Linked DNA regions of Homo sapiens: region 1 is linked to region 2. The links are contacts of gene promoters, found by promoter capture Hi-C in blood cells and fetal thymus (Javierre and others, 2016). All regions are on one chromosome and are shown on one strand. The core of a region is centred on a gene start or on the middle of the fragment in contact, and the rest is flanking DNA. Distances in the headings are between cores, read along the strand shown.

Region 1 (6,603 bases), core at 3,727-6,226, 140 kb before region 2:
TCTTGGAATGTTCTCCCTTACTTTTGGTTCCTGGCAAACTCACCCTCCAGTAGACCAAAAAGCTATGCTTGCCATTGGGATAGGCACAGAAACGGAAGGACCAGAGTCAAGTGTGGATACTACAAAAATGTTTCTTGAAGTAGGAGAATCAGATGGATTGATTGGGAATGGAAGGGATGGTGATTGCAGAAACGGGTTCTGTGATGTCAAGTGCTATGTAAAAAAGATGTTACTGTAAAATGAATTACTTATTTTAACATTATAAGTAGAGAGGGGAATTGTGTTTAAGAGTAATGCAATTAAGGCAAAGGAAAAAAGATTCAGAGAGATGCCTGGCCAAGGTGTTTGGGTTTGATGTGATAAAAGGGCTTATGGCAGCTTCCTTTCATATTGAGATTTAAAGTGTCAGATAACTGTCATATACATTCACAGGCATCTAATTTAAGCTTCAATATATGGACCATAGTCTTTTTTTTTTTTTTTTTTTGACACTAGGTCTTGCTCTGTCACCCAGGGTGGAGTGCGGTGGCGCAATCTCGGCTCACTGCAACCTCTGCCTCAGCCTCTCAAGCGGCTGGGATTACAAGTATGTGCCACATGCCCAGCTGATTTTTGTATTTTTAGTAGAGATGGGGTTTCGCCATATTGGCTAAGCTGGTCTTGAACTAATAACCTCAAGTGATCTGCCTGCCTTGGCCTCCCAAAGTACTGAGATTACAGGTATGAGCCACTGCGCTTGGCCTGGACCATGAGTCCATGTTTCTGGTACTAGCTAAGACCCTAACTCTGGTGTCTATTCATACCAAGACATGTCCATAAAACAGCCAGCATTTCCGTAACTCTGGCATCTATTTTTCTAAAGCTAAATAATGAAACATTGTATGAAACTTTGCTTTTAAATTGTATAAATGATTCTGGATTACAAAATGGCATCTTACTTTCTGATAGCAATTAAAAATAATTGATATTATGGCCCGTCACAGTGGCTCACGCCTGTAATCCCAGTACTTTGGGAGGCTGAGGTGGGCGGATCACCTGAGGTAGGAGTTCGAGACCAGCCTGGCCAACATAGTGAAACCCTGTCACAATACAAAAAATTAGCCAGGCATGGTGGCGGGTGCCTGTAGTCCCAGCTACTCTGGAGGCTGAGGCAGGAGAATTGCTTGAACCTGGAAGGTGGAGGTTGCAGTGCAGCGAGATCACGCCATTGCACTGCAGCCTGGCGACAAGAGGGAAATGCTGTCTGAAAAAGAAAAATAATAATTGGTATTTTGAGCAGTTGGACCAACATTATTTCGTTCAACATTATTTAATATTTGTTTCCTGAGTACAAAACTCTTGGCTTTTAGTATAATGTTCAGCAAACTATTTTGATAGTTAAAAATTTTACCTTTAATATTTTCTTTCCTAGGTGCTCAATGTCCTAATGAAATGCTGTCTAAAAAAGCCTTAGCCTCACCAAGTTCTAAATCACATGAAGATATGTTGTACCCTCCTAGTGTTTTGTCCAAGAGTAGGACATCCTTTGTTGAAGACAGTGAGTTGTAATGGATGTTAGTTCTTTACTGCTGATGATCATTCTTGGGGCAATTGTTGTTGCCATTAGCCTTTTTACTTTTATTGCTGTATATGAGATCCTTTTTGGTCTTACATGATCTTACTTGTAAATGTTTGCTATTAATTATGGTATCTGAATTCTGCTTAACATGGTCTTTGGTTGCATATTTTTGCATCCACTATTTTATTATCTAAATTCTCACCACTTACCTTTTTTTTTTAATGGGACAGAGTCTCTGACACATTAGTACATCTATTGGTGGTCTTCATATTATTGGTAAATAACAAAGTATAGTAACTGGAAAAACATTCTTTTTTTATTGTTTCGAGACAGAGTCTAGCTCTGTTGCCCAGGCTGGAGTGCAGTGGCATGATCTCGGCTCACTGCAACCTCCGCCTCCTGGGTTCAAGCGATTCTCCTGCCTCAGCCTCCCAAGTAGCTGGGATTATAGGCGCTTGCTACCACGCCCAGCTAACTTATTTTTAGTAGAGATGGGGTTTCACCATGTTGGCCAGGCTGGTCTCGAACTCATGACCTCGTGATCCGCCTGCCTCAGCCTCCCAAATTGCTGAGATTACAAGCGTGAGCTCCCGCACCCGGCCTGGAAAAATCATTCTTGTTTCTTATTATCATCTCTGGAATTTTCATATGGTAGTAATACATAAAAATATTACTGCCTAACTGGTTTTGTAACGTGGACGAACCATAATTCACATAACATAACATTCTTCAAGCCATTTAAGTTGCTTCCAGTTTTTAAAGTAACTTTCAGGGAACAGTTTTATGATAATAACATTAAAATTACATCCGGGGCCAGTCATGGTAGTTCACACTTGTAATCCCAGCACTTTGGGAGGCCGAGGCAGGAGGATCACTTGAGCCCAGGAGTTGGAGACCAGCCTGGGCAACATAGCGAGACCTCATCTCTACTTTTTTTAAAAATTAAAAAAAAAAAATTACATCCTAATTTAATTAGATCCCTGTGTGCTGAGGCTATATCCCTGGTTTAATTATTTTTTTATGTGCTTTGTCTTAAGTTTAAAAAATATTTCTAATGTATGTGAACATGTTTATATAGGTATGTATGTATGTATATAAAATGGTTTATTTCTTAGAATTGCATCGTAATATCCACTTTAATTTGTCTTACTAGCGGAAACCCTTTCTGTGAGTGGGATTCCAAATGCTAGGAAGCTAGGGGAGCCTATCCGAGCAGCTATTCCTTTACATCCACCCTACCACCCTTCAGAGCCTCGAGCACCCTGCCCCATAGGAAAAGAATACTTGCATTCAAGTCACTGCTCCCCAGCCGTAAATTCTACTGGAGAGCATACGGAATTTTCTGGGGTAAGTGGAAAAGCTTACTTTCAGTTGGCTAGAAGTACACTTGTATGTATGTCTGTGTGTGTGTTGGTAATTGATTAGAAGGCCGTGTGTGTGTATGTGTATTGGTGAAGTCTTTATTCTTTGTCAAGGAAGCCCCTATATTTAAAGAAGTCTGCTAGAATTGTCAAGCATATTGCACTAGTCAAAGCATCGTACTCCTTAAAATTTGCCTCTGTATACACCTGCACATTCTTGTTCTAGGAAGATAGGAGAAAAACGAATGCATATAAAGGGAAATAATAAGAGCCAACACATAGTGAATGTTTATGTTGTGCCAGGCGCAGTTCTGGATACTTTAGGGGTATTGAATAATTTACTGCCCATAACAACTCTGGAGTAGCTACTATATTTATTTATTGTTGGGAAGCTGATGTAGAGAGGGCAAGGTTACACAGCAATTACAGAGTCAGGATTTGAACTTGGACATTCTGGCTTCAGAGTCCATATTGTGTCCGTAATTTAATAATTTCAAATTTAGAAAACACAGAGTGGAAAAGAAAATAACCATCCATGCATATTCCCATTATCCACCATGAACCACTGTTAACATATTGATCTATTTGGTTCAATTGCAGTGAGCCAAGATCACGCCACTGCGCTCCAGCCTGGGTGACAGAGTAAGACTTCATCTCAAAAAAAAAAAAGAAAAAACCTTTTTTATATAGTCATCCTGTCCTTATCTTTCTAAAAAGAACAGGACTGGGTTCGGTGGCTCACACCCATAATCCCAGCACTTTGGGAGGCTCATGTGAGTGCCAGAGTTTGAGACCACCCTGGGAAACATAGTGAGACCTTGTCTCTGCTAAAAATAGAAAATTAGCCTGGAGTGGTGGTGCATGCCTGTGATCTTAGCTACTTAGTAGGCTGAGGCAGGAGGATCACTTGAGCCCAGGAGCTTCAGTGAGCTGTGACCACACCACTGCATTCCAGCCTGGGCAGCAGAGCAAGACCCTGTCTCAAAAAGAAAAAAATAAAATAAGAAAAACAACAGGCAGGTATGTACACAGGGTAGATATATAAACAGTGATACATTTTCATTATTTAAACATTCAAGCAATGCATTAAAAGTACAGAGATGAAATAAGCATTATTAACAATAGGTGACCACATTCTCAACATTCTGTGCATCTAAACAGGAGAGGGATTAGATAAAAAGAGGTGTTAAAATGGAGTCATAAGATAATGTTTACTTTTGGGGGAATCATAGTGGGGGTTTTAGAGATATTTCTGAGTTGGTAATACTCTGTTTCTTGACCTGGGTGGCAGTTAAAGGGGAGTGTTTATTTTCAAATAATTCATTGAGCTAGAAATACTTTATTTTAAAAGTTTTATTAAAATATGATTATATTTTAGTTGCTATTTAGTAAAAGGTTGTTTGTTTTATTTTTTTTTGAGACAGAGTGTCGCTGTGTCGCCCAGGCTGGAGTGTAGTGGTGCAGTCTGCACCCACTGCAACCTCCACCTCCCAGGCAAGTGATTCTCCTGCCTCAGCCTCCCAAGTAGCTGGGACTACAGGCACACGTGCCACCACACCTGGCTGATTTTTTTTAAAAATATTTTTAGTAGAGACGGGGTTTTGCCATGTTGGCCAGGCTGGTCTCAAACTCCTGGCCTCACCTGCCTGCCTCTGCTTCCCAGATTGCTGAGATTATAGGCATGAATCACCATACCCAGCCTACTAAAGGGTATTTAATTTTACTTTAATAGAAAAAGATAATGAAGTGAAATTAAAGATATCATTAAACATTAAATAAATGGCCGGGTGCGGTGGCTCACACCTGTAATCCCAGCACTTTGAGAGGCTGAGGTGGGTGGATCACGAGGTCAGGAGTTCAAGACCAGCCTGGCCAAGATGGTGAAACCCTGTCTCTACTGAAAATACAAAAATTAGCCAGGCGCGGTGGCAGGTGCCTGTAATCCCAGCTACTCTGGAGGCTGAGTCAGGAGAATTGCTTGAACCCAGGAGGTGGAGGTTGCAGTGACCCAAGACTGCACCACTGCACTCCAGCCTGGGTGACAGTAAGACCCCATCTCAAAAAACAAAAAAACAAACAAACATTAAATGTTTCTTCATCACAAGAAGTATTTTCTAAAAGATTATCTCTAAGACCAAGAAATAAATTTAGCCGGACACGGTAGCTCATGCCTGTAATCCCAGCACTTTGAGAGGCTGAGGCGGGTGGATCACTCGAGGTCAGGAGTTCGAGACCAGCCTGGCCAACATGCGAAACACCGTCTTTACTAAAAATACACAAAAAAATTAGCCAGGTGTTGTGGCATATACCTGTAATCCCAGCTACTAGGGAGGCTGAGGCAGGAGAATCGCTTGAACCTGGGAGGCGGATCAAGCCATTGCACTCCAGCCTAGGCAACAGAGGAAAACTGTCTCAAAAAAAAAAGGAAATTTAAAATGTTAAGGGTTTATATTCATATTTTGAGAGGTGTTGTCTTTGTTTTAACTGTTTCAATTTTGGACAGCCTTTATTGACATTGATACAAAAGATAGCCACTTGAATACTTTGTACTAGTGATAATTTTTTTGTTGCTCAGGTATAGTGGTAATCCCTGAAATTTCATATTTAGAGAACACCTGGCCTGTGTTTTTATTTGAATGGCATCCTGAGCCACATTTGTTCTCTGAGCACAAGTTTCTAGACATTGCTCCAGTCCTTTGGTGCACTGGGTGTCAATAGGGTCTTTTGACAAATGCACTTCAAAACACGGAGATTGAAGGCACGTAGCTTTGTGCCACAGTTCCTCCCTTCCTCACTCCCAGAAAGTTCATGTTTCTTATTTGTAGCTTTTTCAAATCAACTTTTTTTCTGTTTTTAATAGGATCTAGATGATGGACTTTTCTTAATTTCCAAGTTGCCTAAAGGCAGCAAATGGGAAGTATATCCAGCTCAGGTCCAAGGGCCTAGGACAAGGAAGCCTCCCAAAGGAAAAAGGTAACATTACTGCAGACTTCAGTGTTTACAGTCTGTTTACAAAGGAATTTGAAAATGCAGGGGCATGATCTCCAAATTTAGCTGTGAAGACCAGAATGAAGTATTTGTTAAAGTACGTATTACAGTTATTTTAAACTAAATAATAGACACCTAGCTATTTTACTGTCAAATGGTCACTTTTATTACAGAAATGAAAACAGAGCTACAGCCTCATCCTGCAATTCACCTTTCCCCCAGAGGCCAAGAAAGAGATTAACAGAACAAGAATTACATGATGTATCAGAAAAACTCTCTCAGCGGCTTTCTGAACTAGATTGGGCAAGTCTTGTTTTTTCATCTATATTGAGATTCCCATGGGTTAAGTGAGCATTTAAGTAATCTCTCAATTGAAAGTGAGGTATTAGAAAATTAGTTGTGTCTTATTAATAGTTACTGTGAAAATGTTCCGTAAGTCAAGCAGGTAGAACAGGAAGTGATCTCTCAGCGTTTCATGATCTAACTAAATTTGGTGCAGATTTATCCAAATTTTATTGAATTCTGATGAAAACTAAATCATTTAACATAAACGATTATGTTAAGCCATTTTTCTTTAGATATGTCTTTATAGTTCCCCTTTGCCGCTAAAGACAGATCTGGTATAAAATTGGATGGATCACTGATTCTCACAAAATACAATATTACAGTTTTAAGGTATCATTGAATGAATGTTTT
Region 2 (6,499 bases), core at 1,560-4,059:
GTCTTCACAAAGAATCAACTTTTTTTTTTTTTTTTTTTTTAAACAAAATGAGGCCTAGGTTAAATATTTTATTTGGCTTCTCAAGATGGACTGAGAAGTTGGGCACCAGCTCCAGACCAATTCCTGGACGCACATCAAACACAGCCCTGTCATTTATCCAGTCAGTCAAAACAATCTTTTCCATCTAACCCTTTAATGTTTATGTCCTAAAAAGCTGCTAATTGAATCCAGCTCTTGAGATCTATTTGCTAAAATCTATACCATCTAATTTATAAATGATGAACAAAAATGGAAGAAAAAATATGTTAACTTTCCTGGCAAAACAGAAGAGACTCCACTGTAACCAAAGAAGGAAGGACAATGTTTTTAATATTTGTCAAATTTTAAGAGAAAACTATTCAGAGACAAATAGTTGTAAGAAACTCAGAGTACCTCAAACTGTTTTTACTATTAAGAGGACACAGGGTATTTAAAATTCCTCAGAAAAACCTGAAACAAAATCACTATAAATGTAGTTCAATATTCCCCCTTCCCCTAAAATATAAGCATAATCTTTCCTCTTAATAAACTTTAATTATAAATTCTTATAATGTATCATAGGCAGTACGGAAACCACAGATAAACACTTTAAGATCTATTAAGTCATACTAAAAACCTCAACTAACCTTATCTGCAGAAAATCAAAAACCCAATTTTTTCCCTCATTTTCTCTACATAGCCCAGAGGAGGGTAAATGGAAACAGCCTATTTCTGATGCTTTCTGCACACCTGGGATCACATGTTCTTTCCACGATCACTGACTACAGACAGCAACAGCAACAGATAAACTCTAAAGCAACAAAGATCCCCTATAAAGGTTTCCACTGACTCCTCCCAATGTAAGGACACTGAATGAGGGGGGAGGGGGTGGAATACAAGTATCCTCCAATCCAGGTTTTCCATTAAGAATCACTCAGTTAATGATTCCCTGCAATTTTCCCTAGGGAAAGGAAAACTGCCATGAAAGTAATATATTATTTAAATTGCAGCCAACATACATTCAAGCTAAATTCTCAAATACCAAATTCACTGCAAGTTTTCATCCAGCAAGTTCAGCCAGTGGACTGGGATGTGACACACAGGCATTTAACTACAAAATTAGTCCAAATAAATCTCAAAGTCTAGTGTGGGCAAACATAATTACAGTTTATCCGTACACGTGCACGCACACACAAATCCTCTACGGAAAATTATCTTTCTCACCACTCACCCGAATACAAACGTGGACAATTTATCAGGGGTAAATGGTGAAGGTAGGATAACGCCGTGATTCCAATTCCTTTACAAACCAAATAAAAGTTCTCCTAAAACGGGGGTGGCATGTCCATGTAAGAATACCAAAAATGGCACTGTAAGCAAAACGTACCTGTAATGTTAAAGATTTCATGCACCTGGAATCATAAACACTTTGTAAGTGTAGTCTTCTATCTGGCAACCCCTCCGGACATTCTTTTCCATTTCGAAAAAGGAATGGGGAGGGTGGGGAGAGTAACAGAAAGTTTGCTCGAAAGTTTGTATGAGCACATACTTAGCAATGCACCCCCCCCAAAAAAGTGTGTTTTTAAAGCAGGTCTGGCGTTAGAAGTTAGACACAAGTTCTGCGGCCTAAAAGGAACAACCCCAAACATGCCACCCTACAATCAGACACTTCCAAAACACAGTGTACAATGAGCCCAAGCCGTCGGATCAGACAGGCACACCGGAAAAGTCAACCTGTCTCCTCACCTCAGAGACATGAGTTTAAGGTGTGTGGCCCGGGCAGCGGTGGCCGGCGGCGGGGAGTAAAGGTTTTTCATGCGGGCATAACTGGGTGTGTGCAAGGTAACAACCCGGGAACACACACGCACACCCTCCCGTTAAGCGCTCCATCTTTAAGGAGTGTTTACTGCGCGCAGTCAGCAACCGGATTCAATAATCCTCGCCACGGGAGCTCTTCATCCCCTTCACGATCTCACCTGGGCGGTAGCCCAGGGGCTGTTCCCCGAGCCCCGGGAGGCAGCGTCTGGCTCCTTGACCAAGACTTTCCGACCTGAAATCCGCCTGCGATGCGAACCGGTGTATTCTCCCCTCCACAAAACACCACCCCCCGCCCCGAGTCATCCTCGGCTTTTTAAACAATGTCCAAACCAGAGCAAGTGGTTTTCCAATTACTCTCCCTGAACTAGGCCTTCCCATTCCTCCGACCCCCAACTCATCATTGATCGCGACCCTGGCCCTTCCCAAGGCCACAGGCACCCCCCGCCAGCTCGCCCACCCCGCGGCTGCCCAGCCCGGCCCGCCGCCCCCCCTCACCTGTCAGGCGCAGCTTGACGGGCCCGTTCCTCCGGCCTCCGGGGTTAGACATGTCCCCGGCGGCGGGGGCGGCGGGGGCGGCGGGCGGCACGGGGGCGACGGCGAGGCGCGGCGGAGTCACCACAGCGGCCGGGGCTGGGGCCCGAGCAGCCGGCGCCTCGGCCGCCACGGCCGGAGGGTCCCGGATGTGCCGAGAGTCGTCGCCATGAGCCGCGGAGGGAGCGGGACGCCGAGCTCCCCCCTCCTCCCACTTCTCCTTCCTCGGCCCGGGCCGCACAACAAAGCGGCAGCCGCGGCCGCCCGCGCCGCCTCCGCCCGCGCCCCCGCCGCCTCCTCGCGGCCGCCGAGGCCTTTCCCTCCTCTCGTCTCGGCGAGGCCCAGTAGCCGACGGGGCTGGTCGGCTGAAGCGGGCGGTGCTCGGGGGCGCCGGAGCAGAACTCTGGGCTCGGCCGCTTCCTCCTCCACCCGCCCTCTTGTCTGAGGGACCCGGGACCTGGGGCCGCCGCCGCCACTCGTCGGCTCCGGGGGGCGGGGAGGAGACGGGAGGCGGGGCCGGCGGGGCGGGGCGGGGCCGGGGCGGGGCCGGCGGGCGCGCGCAGGGTGCCCTGGCGGGCACCGGCAGTCAGGGAGGGTGTGAGCTGCCGCCGAGGGTCCCACGCGGAACGCTGGGAGGGAGCAGGCAGGGAGCAAAGCGGCGGCGGGCGCGGCAGCTCTGTGGCACCTGGAGGGGTTTACTGTCCGGGCCACTTAAGGGAGAACTTTTGTCCAAGCAGGGCCAACTGCATTTTATTAGACGCCCACTGCGTGCAGGGCGCTCCGAGAGGCTGGGGCGAGGAAGGTTAGAACCGAGTCCGCTGCCTGCCGGGAACTTGGCGTCTTTCGGGCGAGGGAAGAGAAAGCATTCCCACGCCGATGGTTCCAGCAAAACCCCAGGAATGCTCTGCTCCTGGTCTTGTAGTTGACACCTCCATCCGGGACTCACCTGGTGGAGGAGATCAGGTTACCTGCCGACTCCCGCTCTTTTCAGGTGCAGCCAAGGATGGGGAGATGATACGTCTTAAAGGATTAACAAGATAAACCTTGGAGAGTAATGTATGAAGAGTTGTTCATACGCTACTGTATTTCGTTATCTCAGGAGGAGAAAGAGAAAAGTTTTTAAAAAATGTGTACCTTATCCTTTGACATTGTAACTGTACTGCTAGAAATTTATTTTTTATTTTTTTGTTTTTAGACAGGGTCTCCCTCTGTCGCCCAGGCTGGAGTGCAGTGGTGCGAACACGGCTCACTGCAGTCTCAACTTCCGGGGCTCAGGTGATCCTCCCACCTGAGCCTCTGGAGTAGCTGAGACCACAGTGTGCACCACTACGCCCCACTAATTTTTGTATTTTTAGTAGAGACATGTTTAGTAGAGACGTTTAGGTTTTCCCATGTTGCCCAGGCTGGTCACGAACTCCTGACCTCAAGCGATCAGCCCGCCTCGGCCTCCCAAAGTGCTGGGATTACAGACCTGAGCCACCGCACCGGCCCTATTCTTGACAAATAATCGTACAGAAGATGTTCTTTGCTATATTCCATTAATAACAAAAGGGGAATGAGGGAATAGCATAATAGTCCAGGAACCGCATGGTTTTTTATGCAGCCATGTAACTATTTTTATGAAGATCATATAATATGGAAGAATGTATATGTAATGCAAAGTTTAAAAACAGAATAGAAGTTGTATGCATATACATGCGAAAGTATCTAGCACAATGTAAACTACTAAGGACAATAGCGTGGGGGATTTTTTATGTGATTCGTTAGTTTTGCTTTAGGCTATTATAACATTAATGCAATTTTAAATGTTTTGGATTAATATATTTTAATCCTTATTCCATGCCAGTCATTTCTTTTAATACATCAGTGAACTCACTTCTCCAGATAGTTACCTGCGAGAACATTTCATCAGTTTGGATACAGCCCTACAATTAAAAGTAATCCAAAAAAGTATATGAAGTTCTAGACATCACACTAAAAATACCACAGATAGGCCGGGCACAGTGGCTCACGCCTGTAATTCCAACACTTTGGGAGGCCGAGGTGGGCGGATCATTTGAGGTCAGGAGTTTGAGACCAGCCTGGCCAACATGGTGAAACCCCGTCTGTACTAAAAAAAAATACAAAAAAATTAGCCGGGCCTGGTGGCGCATGCCTGTGGTCCCAGCAATTAGGGAGGCTGAGGCAAGAGAATCGCTTGAACACGGGAGGTTGCAGTGAGCCGAGATCACGCCACTGCACTTCAGCCTGGGTGACAGAGCGAGACTCCATATCAAAAATAAATACATAAATAAATAAAAATTAAAATACCAGAGATAGTGCCAGCAATTCATTCAACAAATATTAAGTGGCCATTTTGTGCAAAGCAATGAACAAGGTCCTTTAGAAATGCTTCCTTGTACTACAAATATATAGAAATCAATGTGAACAATAGCTGCTACCACAATTTAAGAGGGCAGACAGTGGCAAAAAACTTAGCAAACTAATGTACACATACACATTTGCCTTATTTTTACAGCACGCTTTGTTCCCAACCACCCAACTAACATAATTTGTAGCCTTGTATTAGGTAATAGAAGTTAGGATTTCAGAACGTCATGGGAGACCTGGGGGAGACTGCTTGTTTTGAAGTTGAAAGCAGTAAATTAAAAAATGTAAGTGACAGCATAGAAAAATGTATATAGGGTTAACGTGCAGAGGTTTGTATTTAGGCTTTCTTGTAAGGTTAAATCCTGTTGTTTAAAACAAATATTCAGATAAGAATAACACTAAAACCATTCAAGGGCTGGGCATGGTGACTCATGCCTGTAATCCTAGCACTTTGGGAGGCCGAGGCAGAGGAGTCACTTGAGCCCAGGAGTTTGAAACCAGCCTGGGCAACATGGCAAAACCCCGTATCTACAAAACATTAGCCAGGAGTGGTGGCCTGCACCTATAGGCCCAGCTACTCAGGAGGCTGAGATAGGATCACCTGAGCCTGTGGAGGTCAAGGTTGCAGTGAGCCGTGATCACACCACTGCATTCCAGTGCCACTGCATTCCATCCTGGGCAGCATACTGAGACTATCACAAAAATAAAAAGAAAATCAATGTACTGGTAATGATTTTTTTAAGCAGGTACATGGATGTTCATTTTATTGTTTTCCTTGCCATCTTAAATATTGACATTGACTGTAAACATTTATTTAAAAGTAACTAAATGTTTAAAATGAAGTAAAATAAATGAAAACATAGAACAGGGGCAGAGCGTGGTGGCTAACACCTGTAATCCCCACACTTCGGGAGACCAAGGTGGGAGGATCACTGGAGCCCAGGAGGTTGAGGCTGCAGTGAGCCATGATTATGCCATTGCACTCCAGCCTGGGCAACAGAGTAAGACCCTACCTCAAAAAACAAATGCACTCAAAAACAGAATACTCATAATAGGAAAGTCATTTTGAAGGCCTCTCTTAAGTGAGTGGCCTCATCTAGTCCAGGCTCAGATTTCAGAGACGATTGGGTTAGAAAGTTTAAAAAAACAAAAAAGTTTATGTGTTTCTCTTCCCTTGGGGATATGTTTATGTCCCCAAAGGGGGATATATATACATTATAATGACAACATGTAGGGAATTACCAAATTAATAGCCGGAACTTGGGAAAGATAAGACGGAAAATTAAGGGATGGGAATCTTAGGTAAAATCAATTATATACATTCAGGTGTAAAAGTCTTTGAGGAAAGGAAAATAGCATTGGACATGAAAACAGAACCATTCTTTTTTTTTTTTTAGACGGAGTCTCACTCTGTTGCCCAGGCTGGAGTGCAGTGGTGCAATCTCGGCTCACTGCAACCTCCACCTCCTGGGTTCAAGTGATTCTCCTGCCGCAGCCTCCTGAGTAGCTGGGATTACAGGCACCCACCACCACACCTGGCTAATTTTTGTATTTTTTTTTTTTTTTTTAGTAGAGACGGGGGTTTCCCCATGCTGGTCAGGCTGGTCTCGAACTCCTGACCTTGTGATCCACCCTCCTCGGCCTCCCAAAGTGCTGGGATTACAGGCGTGAGCCACTGTGCCCAGCAGGACCATTCTTTACATATCAAAATATTACTATGAGATTCATTCAGCCACCATTTTTATTTTATTTTATTTTATTT

Evidence for each region. The method cuts DNA at HindIII sites, captures the fragments that hold promoters and counts their contacts. A CHiCAGO score of 5 or more calls a contact.
Region 1: a contact is called between a fragment that was not itself captured here and the fragment with the promoter of SMURF2 in region 2, in 1 of 17 cell types (M0 macrophages). The highest score is 5.6, in M0 macrophages.

Annotation. Positions count from the first base shown.
Region 1 is chr17:64,519,991-64,526,593 of GRCh38, forward strand. It overlaps CEP95 (centrosomal protein 95), which reads left to right. Exons shown (of 20, transcript NM_138363.3): 7 at 1,412-1,537; 8 at 2,712-2,905; 9 at 5,780-5,892; 10 at 6,081-6,210. Among named protein-coding and RNA genes, the nearest start is that of CEP95, 16 kb to the left of the region's middle. The HindIII fragment of the contact is 4,120 bases long and covers 2,917-6,603 here.
Region 2 is chr17:64,659,498-64,665,996 of GRCh38, forward strand. It overlaps SMURF2 (SMAD specific E3 ubiquitin protein ligase 2), which reads right to left and starts at 2,810. Exons shown (of 19, transcript NM_022739.4): 1 at 2,332-2,810. The coding sequence starts at 2,383. RefSeq lists silencers at 2,304-2,503, 2,554-2,953 and an enhancer at 3,104-3,662. The HindIII fragment of the contact is 18,568 bases long and covers 1-6,499 here.